Linked DNA regions of Homo sapiens: all the other regions are linked to region 2. Evidence: promoter capture Hi-C in 16 types of primary human blood cells and fetal thymus (Javierre and others, 2016). All regions are on one chromosome and are shown on one strand. Each heading gives the region's core, a stretch centred on a gene start or on the middle of the fragment in contact. The rest is flanking DNA. Distances are from core to core; before and after follow the strand shown. Region 1 overlaps TYRO3 (TYRO3 protein tyrosine kinase). Region 2 holds the start of JMJD7 (jumonji domain containing 7). Region 3 overlaps RTF1 (RTF1 homolog, Paf1/RNA polymerase II complex component).

Region 1 (2,700 bases), core at 98-2,597, 260 kb before region 2:
TCTCCTCTCTTACTGCAAGAAGAGCTGTCCAAATCTGCCATGCCTAAGGGGGCAGCATGGAAGATGTGTCTAAGGTGCCAGGCATGGTGGCGTGTGCCTGTAGTCCCAGCTACTCCGGAGGCTAAGGCCAGAGGATCACTTGAGCCCCCAGGAGTTCCAGGCCAGCCTGGGCAACATAGAGAGACCTCCCCGCGACCAATCTCAAAAAAAAAAAAAAAAAAAAAAAATTCCTAAGGAGCCTGAAAAAGAGAAGCACCGCCTACCTCTCAAGCTAGATGCCTGTTCTGCTGTTGACCTAATCATAAGGGGCCTGTGGGAACCTTCTGCGTGGAGGACTTCAGATGTAAACAGACTTGTGATTTGTACAGTAGGAAGCCAAGAGGTGGCAGGGCTCACTCCTCACTCCCCTTCTCTCCTAGGTGTGCCATTTTTCACAGTGGAGCCAAAAGATCTGGCAGTGCCACCCAATGCCCCTTTCCAACTGTCTTGTGAGGCTGTGGGTCCCCCTGAACCTGTTACCATTGTCTGGTGGAGAGGAACTACGAAGATCGGGGGACCCGCTCCCTCTCCATCTGTTTTAAATGTAACAGGTGAGCAGCCTCAGAAGGGGGCTGGGAGTGGAGAAGGAGCTGGGTCCTGGAGGGCACTGAAGCTGGCAGTTTCAGCCACTGAGCTTGCGGTTGTGAGCGTCCAGAGCAAGCCCCAGTGTCTGGGGACGTGAGCTGCACCATTACTAAGCTCATTAGTCAGGTGTGCTAGGCTGGCTGGGTGGGCTGATTAGTGGTGATCCTGCTGTGTGTGCTTAAGGAGGGTGTGGGGCCACCTTTGGTTCACAGCAGTCCAGGCCATGCACAGCTGGCCCTCAGAGATGAATTGTATGAGACCAGGGGCACCCATCCCCCACCCCTCCCAAGGAAAGGAGCCAGAAACCAGCCCACGCAGAACTAGGGAGGAGTATCTGGCAGACACTGAGAAGACAAGACTCTCAGGCTGCAGAGAGGGGAGAGGAGGGAGAGAGAAGGGGTAGGGGGAGGTTAGCACAAAGATACAGGGCCTCCTCCCCTAATGGCGCTTTCCGGGAAACCTCCACACGTTTTCTCAAACAACTGTGTCTGTCCATACCTCTGCACAGTCACACCTGCACACCCACCTGGGCCCCAAGTTTCTTGGGCACATACCCTCACATGCTTGTAAGGCTTGCTTATTTGTGAAACAAAGGCTTGCTTATTTGTTTCTGGTTGAGGCTTGAATTGGGCAAAAAAGATGGGAGTCTGAGCTTGGTCTCATGTGCTGGAAGGTGCCAGGGAAATGGGCGCTGAGCTAGGTTCTCCAGCAATTTGAATCTTGACAAGAGGTGGACTATGAGACCTCTTGGAAGCAAGTGCAGGTCCTGTTCAGGAGGCGCTGAGTTGGAGCAGATTAGAGAGGAGGTTGGGTTCACTTCCTTCCAGGTGTGCGTGGTTGGGACCCTCAGGCAGGCAGCCTGATAATAAGCACTCACTGAACTCCTACTCCACACCACACTGTGCTAGGCACCACAGGGGACAGAGGGAATACAAAGGAAATAGAAGCTAAAGAACTGAGTATAACTGGGGAGACAAGACATGTGCATAAAGAGCTGAGAACTACTGCAAGGCAGAGAGTCTGCAAATAACAACCCCAAGGGGGCACAGAGCAAACAGAAGGGCTCACTCTGGTATGCGCAATAAAAGAGTGACCAGAAAAGGGGGGCAATTTGTGCTGTGTGTGGGAGATGGGATGGAGGTGGGAGGGTGGTATAACGTTTCTCAAGGGCTTATTTAGCATGCCGTGCACTTGACACACATTACCTGATTCTCACAATTCTCCCATTTGAGAGATGAGAAAACAGAGCCCTCTCCAGGCTCACCAGACTCTAGTGTCCCTGTTCATTTCACCGTACCTCACTGCCCAGCCCCTTCCTTTGGCAGGAGGGATTTAAGGATGTTCAGACCAGAGCCTGAGTATTCCCCTTTCCCAGTCCCGCACTGAGTGGGGTTGCTGCTTGGGGAGCTGACTGAGGTTTTCTGGCCCCAGGGGTGACCCAGAGCACCATGTTTTCCTGTGAAGCTCACAACCTAAAAGGCCTGGCCTCTTCTCGCACAGCCACTGTTCACCTTCAAGGTAGGAGGGCTGGCAGGGAGGAAGGGTGGATGAGGCCAGGGGCATTCCCAGCGAGCTGTCCAGCAGTTAGAATCATTCTGTGTTCCAGCTCCCCTTGTGGTCCTGCTGGGATCTAGGGAGCAAGGGGTTAATTGGCATAGCTCCCATTCCTAGTGGGAGCACCTGAGACCCTGCGTGGCTGAGATGAGAATAGAATCCTGACGTCACAGCAGATTTCCCATCACGAAGCAGAGTCCTTGGGAGGGAGGGAAGGAGGGAGGGAGGCAGCAGGAGATGGTCAAGGCCCATGCCCAGCCTTGTTTCTGCCCCTCCCTTTGAGGGGATGGGGGTGGGGAAAACAGCCTAGTACCGGATGGAGGAGACCAGAGGGCTGGTGTACAGAGAGAGGGGGAGGGAGAGGGTGTCTGCAGGAGCCAGGCTGTGGCTGCAGGGGCAGCTGCCTGTCTCTCCCTTGTATCTCCCAAGCCTGAGGTGCTGCCCCCACATACCCTCTCATCTTATTCCTCAGTTACACAGGGCCTTCGTGGCAGGGAGAGGCAACCTCTCTCCACAGCCCAG
Region 2 (2,700 bases), core at 163-2,662:
TGGATACTGGAGTTTGAGAGGAGGGAGGTGCTGGGGCCAAAGGAGACACTAGAAAAGTGGTAGATGGGACAGGTAAGTGGCAGAGGTGAGGGGATAAGTTAGAATGTAAAAGGGCAGTAATTAGGGGTGAGGGAAAGGAGATAGGGGACCCTAGGAGGTAGAGTGGGACCATGTCGTGAGGCAGTTGAAGAGTTGAGGAAAGGTTTTTCTGGGCCCTACTGCTCCCCTCTGCTGCAGGTAAGTCAGAGCAGCTTTACCACAGCTTCAGGCCACGAGAGCCCCTTCACCCGCCCTGCTGCGCCATAGGCAGAGGCTTATAAAGAAATGGGTTCTGGGCCAGGTGTGGTGGCTCAAGCCTGTAATCCCAGCACTTTGGGAGGCCGAGGCGGGTGGATCACCTGAGGTTAGGAGTTCGAGATCAGCCTGGCCAACATGGTGAAACCCTGTCTACTAAAAATAAAAAAATTAGCTGGGCGTGGTGGTGGGCGCCTGTAATCCCAGCTACTCGGGAGGTTTAGGCAGGAGAATCGCTTGAACCCTGGAGGTGGAGGTGGAGGTTGCAGTGAGCCGAGATCGCGCCATTGCACTCCAACCTAGGTGACAAAGCTACACGCCATCTCAAAAAAAAAAAAGAAAAAGGGTTACAAAAGGTTCCCAGCTCCGGGGCATCAGCCTGAGTGCGCTTGAGCTGCTCCAAACCTGGCCCTTCCCCACTCCTCTAGCATCGCCACCCGCATGGCCCTGGAACTCCCGCGGCGGCGGGGGCGGGCCCGTGCCTGCTGTGCCCCGACTTCCCACACCAGCCGCGCCCACCGCAGGTGGGACTCAGGTTCGCCCTCTGGGCCAGGTCCTTCACGAGGAGGGAGCTACCCTTCGCCAGAAGTTTGTGAGAATGTGGCCGCCCTTTTCCTGCCCTCTGCCCCATGTGGGTGGGGGGCCTCGTGGCCCGGCCGGCGCCCCGTCCCCTTCTGCATGTCTGAGGCCACCGGCAACCGCCGCCCCACTCCAGATTTGCCCCCGCCTTGTTTTGAAAGCCCCTTATTTATAACTTTTATACTTTGTGCAGGTCGCGGCGCTTCCTGCCTCATCCTCGGCTGCATGGGGCGGGGGCGCTGTTTTTAACGTGCCCGTTTGTACTGATGTATGAACTTGTCAATAAACACAATTGTTTGTTAACCCTGGGATGCCGGCCAGTGGGGCAGGCCGAAGCGGGCGCTGCCAGTCGCTCCACCGCTTCGGTGGCAGAACCCGGTGTGTGTCCAGGGGCAGGACGGGGCGGGGTGCTGGGGGTGTGGCCTGCGGCGGGTGCCTCTGGAAGGGCGGGGCGAGGGTCTGGGGGTGTGGCCTGCGGCGGGGACTCTGGGGAGGGCGGGGCGAGTGCTTGGGGTGTGGCCTGCGGCGGGGCGTCGGGGAAAGGCGGGGTCTCGGCCGGCGCTGACGCAGCCATGGCGGAGGCGGCTTTGGAAGCCGTGCGGAGCGAGTTACGAGAATTCCCGGCCGCTGCAAGGGGTGAGTGGCTCTCCCACAGGCTGCGGCGATTTCCGAACACGGGAGGGGCCCTGGGATGCCGCTGACACCGGGGGCTCGGAACCTCGTGTGTGCGACTGCCCTGAGGCCCCGCTCGGGTTGCTCTTCTGTGGCAACCTGCTTCCCTTCTCCCGTGTTCGCGCGCTCCCGCGGCTTCCTGGGTGATTCTGTTCACGTTGTTCCCAAGGCCCGGTGCCGTCTTGACCGTGGTCGCGGCGAAGCCCTGTGTTTCCTACAGTCTTGAGCAGCTTGCTGTTACCCTTGTTGAAAGCTCATCGAAGGCACACAGCTGGTGGTCGGATTCCTCCCCCACGCGCCCCACCTCCGACCTCAACTCCCTTGTCGCACTTTGGGAGGATTGCAGGCTGACCAAATGGTCCCTGGCTCTTCCCCTGCTTGGTTTTTATTCCTTTTCTTTCTTTCTCTCTTCCCTCCTTCCTTCTTTTTTCTATTTTTAAATGATTTCTTACCACTGAACAGCAACACAGGCTCATGTGTATGTGATGGGTATGTAATATACAGTGGTACGCAATGTAAATGAAGCAAGGTTTCCTCCCAGCCCCAGTTTGCATTCTTACAGAAAGATTGTTTATATCCGTGCACACACGACTTTTTACCCTTTTTTTGTACAAATAGTAGCCTGCTAAACACACTCTTCTGCACCGTGTATCTTGGAGATCATTTCACATTCCTCTACCTCAGTCTTTTTCACGTCTGTGTGCTAGTGCTGTATTCACTTAGTCATTTAGGTCATGTCCAATCCGTTGTTTTCAATAATGCTGCAACGAATACTTTGAGGATTGATTTAACAAATACTTATTCAGCATCTCTGTGTGCCAGGCTCTGTTCAGTGTGTTTGAGATACATCACTGAACAAAACAAATCTGTCTTTTACAGTCTATGTCCTGTTACATTCTAAGTGAGAACGTGGACAATCAACCACAGGTGTACTGAATGAGTACATTGTAGAGTAGAAGAAGTAGGTTAGAAGGTAAGTGCAGGCAAAGCCCTCTTTGGGAGTATGCCTGATGTGTTTAGGAAACAGTGAAGAAGCCAGTCTGCAGGAGCAGCGTCTTCTGCGCATGTGTGAGTATGTTTGTTGGTTAAATACTTTATATTTTTTGAGACAGGGTCTTACTCTGTCACACAGGCTGGAGTGCAGTGGCACGATCA
Region 3 (2,700 bases), core at 141-2,640, 360 kb before region 2:
GTTCACGCCATTCTCTTGCCTCAGCCTCCCAAGTAGCTGGGACTATAGGCGCCCGCCACTACGCCCGGCTAATTTTTTGTATTTTTAATAGAGACAGGGTTTCACTGTTTTAGCCGGGATGGTCTCGATCTCCTGACCTCGTGATCCGCCCGCCTCGGCCTCCCAAAGTGCTGGGATTACAGGCTCATTCATTTTCTTACTCTGATGGGTTATCTAAGATGGCAGCCTCATTTGAAACAGCTCATACTACTGGTCAGGAACAGGATCCTATTACAAGTCTTTGCTGGTGCTTCATTTACTTCTCCTCCTAGGCCAGTCACATGTACTTTGGTTAAGTTTTGAGGAGTTGATATTATTTTTCTGTCTTGTTCTGTTTTTATGATGAACATTTTTTCCAGTGCCCCTTTGTTCCTCTTAGGAAAGAAGAGATCCCTCCCAAATCCCAACCAGTTTCCTTACCTGAAGAATTGAATCGGGTTCGATTATCACGGCATAAGCTAGAACGCTGGTGTCACATGCCCTTCTTTGCTAAAACTGTCACAGGATGTTTTGTGCGGATTGGCATCGGAAACCACAACAGCAAACCAGTTTACCGGGTTGGTATTTCTTCCCTTGGACAATTGTCCATGCTTTCAGTATAATTAGTCTCAACTGAGGGCAGGAGCTACTGAAAAAATCGATCACTCTTCTCTCAGCATTTGATGGAAAGTAGACTCCAAGTGGGATCCCCATAGAGCAGTGAGGTGCCCAGGAATCCTTCATGACTTGTTGCCAAGAGGAGGACTTGGAGCCCAAGGGCCTGGAAGATTTGGATGTAGAATAATTTTCTCTATTCTCCCTTCAGTATAAAAGGGAGAAGGGAGGCATCTATGAAGTGTTCATTGGGAGTTACATAATCTAAAAGATTTGTTCATTTGAAAAACCAATGAATGAAAAGTTTCATGTTGCATACCAAGTGACTTCTACACCAGGGAATTGTATTGAGGTTAAAAAAAACCCTCCAGACTAATACAGGTTATTATGTAGGTTCCAGCACTGCTTCTGTGGTCTAGGTGGACTGGGCACAGTGGCTTACTCCTGTAATCCCAACACTTTGGGATTTATTTATTTATTTATTTATATTTTATTTTACCATTATTATTATTTTTTTATTTTTATTTTTTGAGACGGAGTCTCATTCTGTCACCCAGGCTGGAGTGCAATGGCGTGGTCTTGGCTCACTGCAACCTCCGCCTCCCGGGTTCAAGTGATTCTCCCGCCTCAGCCTCCCAAGTAGCTGGGACTACAGGCGCATGCCACCACACCTGGCTAATTTTTGTATTTTTAGTAGAGACGGGGTTTCACCATGTTGGCGAGGCTGGTCTTGAACTCTTGACCTTGTGATCCACCTGCCTCAGCCTCCCAAAGTGCTGGCGTGAGCCACCGCACCTGGCCTATTTTTATTTTTATTTATTTGTTGTTTTTTTTTTTCAGACAGAGTTTCGCTTTTGTCGCCCAGGCTGGAGTGCAATGGCACGATCTTGGCTCACTGCAACCTCCGCCTCCTGGGTTCAAGTAATTCCCCTGCCTCAGCCTCCCGAGTAGCTAGTGTTACAGGCACCCGCCACCGTGCCTGGCTACTGTTTGTATTTTTAGTAGAGATGGGGTTTCACCATGTTGGCCAGGCTGGTCTTGAACTCCTGACCTCAGGTGATCCACCTGTCTCGGCCTCCCAAAGTGCTGGGATTATTGACATGAGCCACTGAGCCCGGCCTTATTTTTAATTTTTTGTTTTTTATTTTTGGAGACAGAGTCTTACCCCGTTGCCCAGGCTGGAGTGCAGTGGCACGCTCTTGGCTCACTGCAGCCTCTGCCTCCTGGGTTCAAGCGATTCTCATGCCTCAGCCTCCAAGTAGCTGGGACTACAGGCATGCGCCACCACGCCTGGCTGATTTTTTTTTAGACTGAGTCTCTTTTTTTTTTTTTTTAGACGGAGTCTCGCTATGTGGCCCAGGCTGGAGTTCAGTGGCACGATCTCGGCTCACTGCAAACTCTGGCTCCCAGGTTCACGCCATTCTCCTGTCTCAGCCTCCCCAGTAGCTGGGACTACAGGCGCCCGCAACCACGCCTGGTTAATTTTTTGTATTTTTAGTGGAGATGGGGTTTCACCGTGTTAGCCAGGATGGTCTTGATCTCCTAACCTCGTGATCCGCCCGCCTCGGCCTCCCAAAGTGCTGGGATTACAGGCGTGAGCCACCGCACCCGGCCTCACTTTGGGATTTAAAAAAAAATTTTTGTAGCAACAGCCTCTCTCTGTTTCTTATGCTGGTCTCAAACTCCGGGCCTCAAGTGATGTTCTGGCCTCAGCCTCCTAAAGTGCTTGGTGTTGGTTTTTTGTTTTGTTTTGTTTTGTTTTTTTGAGACGGAGTCTCGCCCTGTCATCCAGGCTGGAGTGCAGTGGCGCGATCTTGGCTTACTGCAAGCTCCCACTCCTGGGTTCACGCCATTCTCCTGCCTCAGCCTCCCGAGTAGCTGGGACTACAGGCGCCCACCACCATGCCAGCTAATTTTTTGTATTTTTAGTAGAGACGGGGTTTCACCTTGTTAGCCAGGATGGTCTCGATCTCCTGACTTCGTGATCTGCCTTCCTTGGCCTCCCAAAATGCTGGGATTACAGGTGTGAGCCACCACGCCCGGCCCAGGTGTTGGGTTTTTTTTTTT

Evidence for each region. Contacts are between HindIII fragments. The CHiCAGO score rates a contact against its expected background, and 5 or more counts as called.
Region 1: a fragment that was not itself captured here is called in contact with the fragment with the promoter of JMJD7 in region 2 in 1 of 17 cell types (endothelial precursors); the score reaches 6.7 in endothelial precursors.
Region 3: a contact is called between a fragment that was not itself captured here and the fragment with the promoter of JMJD7 in region 2, in 1 of 17 cell types (M0 macrophages). The highest score is 5.2, in M0 macrophages.

Annotation. Positions count from the first base shown.
Region 1 is chr15:41,562,129-41,564,828 of GRCh38, forward strand. TYRO3 (TYRO3 protein tyrosine kinase) reads left to right here. Exons shown (of 19, transcript NM_006293.4): 4 at 420-590; 5 at 2,056-2,142. Among named protein-coding and RNA genes, the nearest start is that of TYRO3, 4.3 kb to the left of the region's middle. RefSeq lists enhancers at 245-932, 2,309-2,700. The HindIII fragment of the contact is 3,171 bases long and covers 1-2,700 here.
Region 2 is chr15:41,826,680-41,829,379 of GRCh38, forward strand. JMJD7 (jumonji domain containing 7) reads left to right here and starts at 1,413. Exons shown (of 8, transcript NM_001114632.2): 1 at 1,413-1,509. The coding sequence starts at 1,446. It overlaps MAPKBP1 (mitogen-activated protein kinase binding protein 1), which reads left to right. Exons shown (of 31, transcript NM_014994.3): 31 at 1-1,176. JMJD7-PLA2G4B (JMJD7-PLA2G4B readthrough) reads left to right here and starts at 1,413. Exons shown (of 25, transcript NM_005090.4): 1 at 1,413-1,509. The coding sequence starts at 1,446. RefSeq lists enhancers at 1,011-1,240, 1,272-1,566 and a silencer at 1,301-1,390. The HindIII fragment of the contact is 18,805 bases long and covers 1-2,700 here.
Region 3 is chr15:41,470,754-41,473,453 of GRCh38, forward strand. RTF1 (RTF1 homolog, Paf1/RNA polymerase II complex component) reads left to right here. Exons shown (of 18, transcript NM_015138.5): 8 at 419-596. Among named protein-coding and RNA genes, the nearest start is that of ITPKA, 22 kb to the right of the region's middle. The HindIII fragment of the contact is 4,459 bases long and covers 1-2,700 here.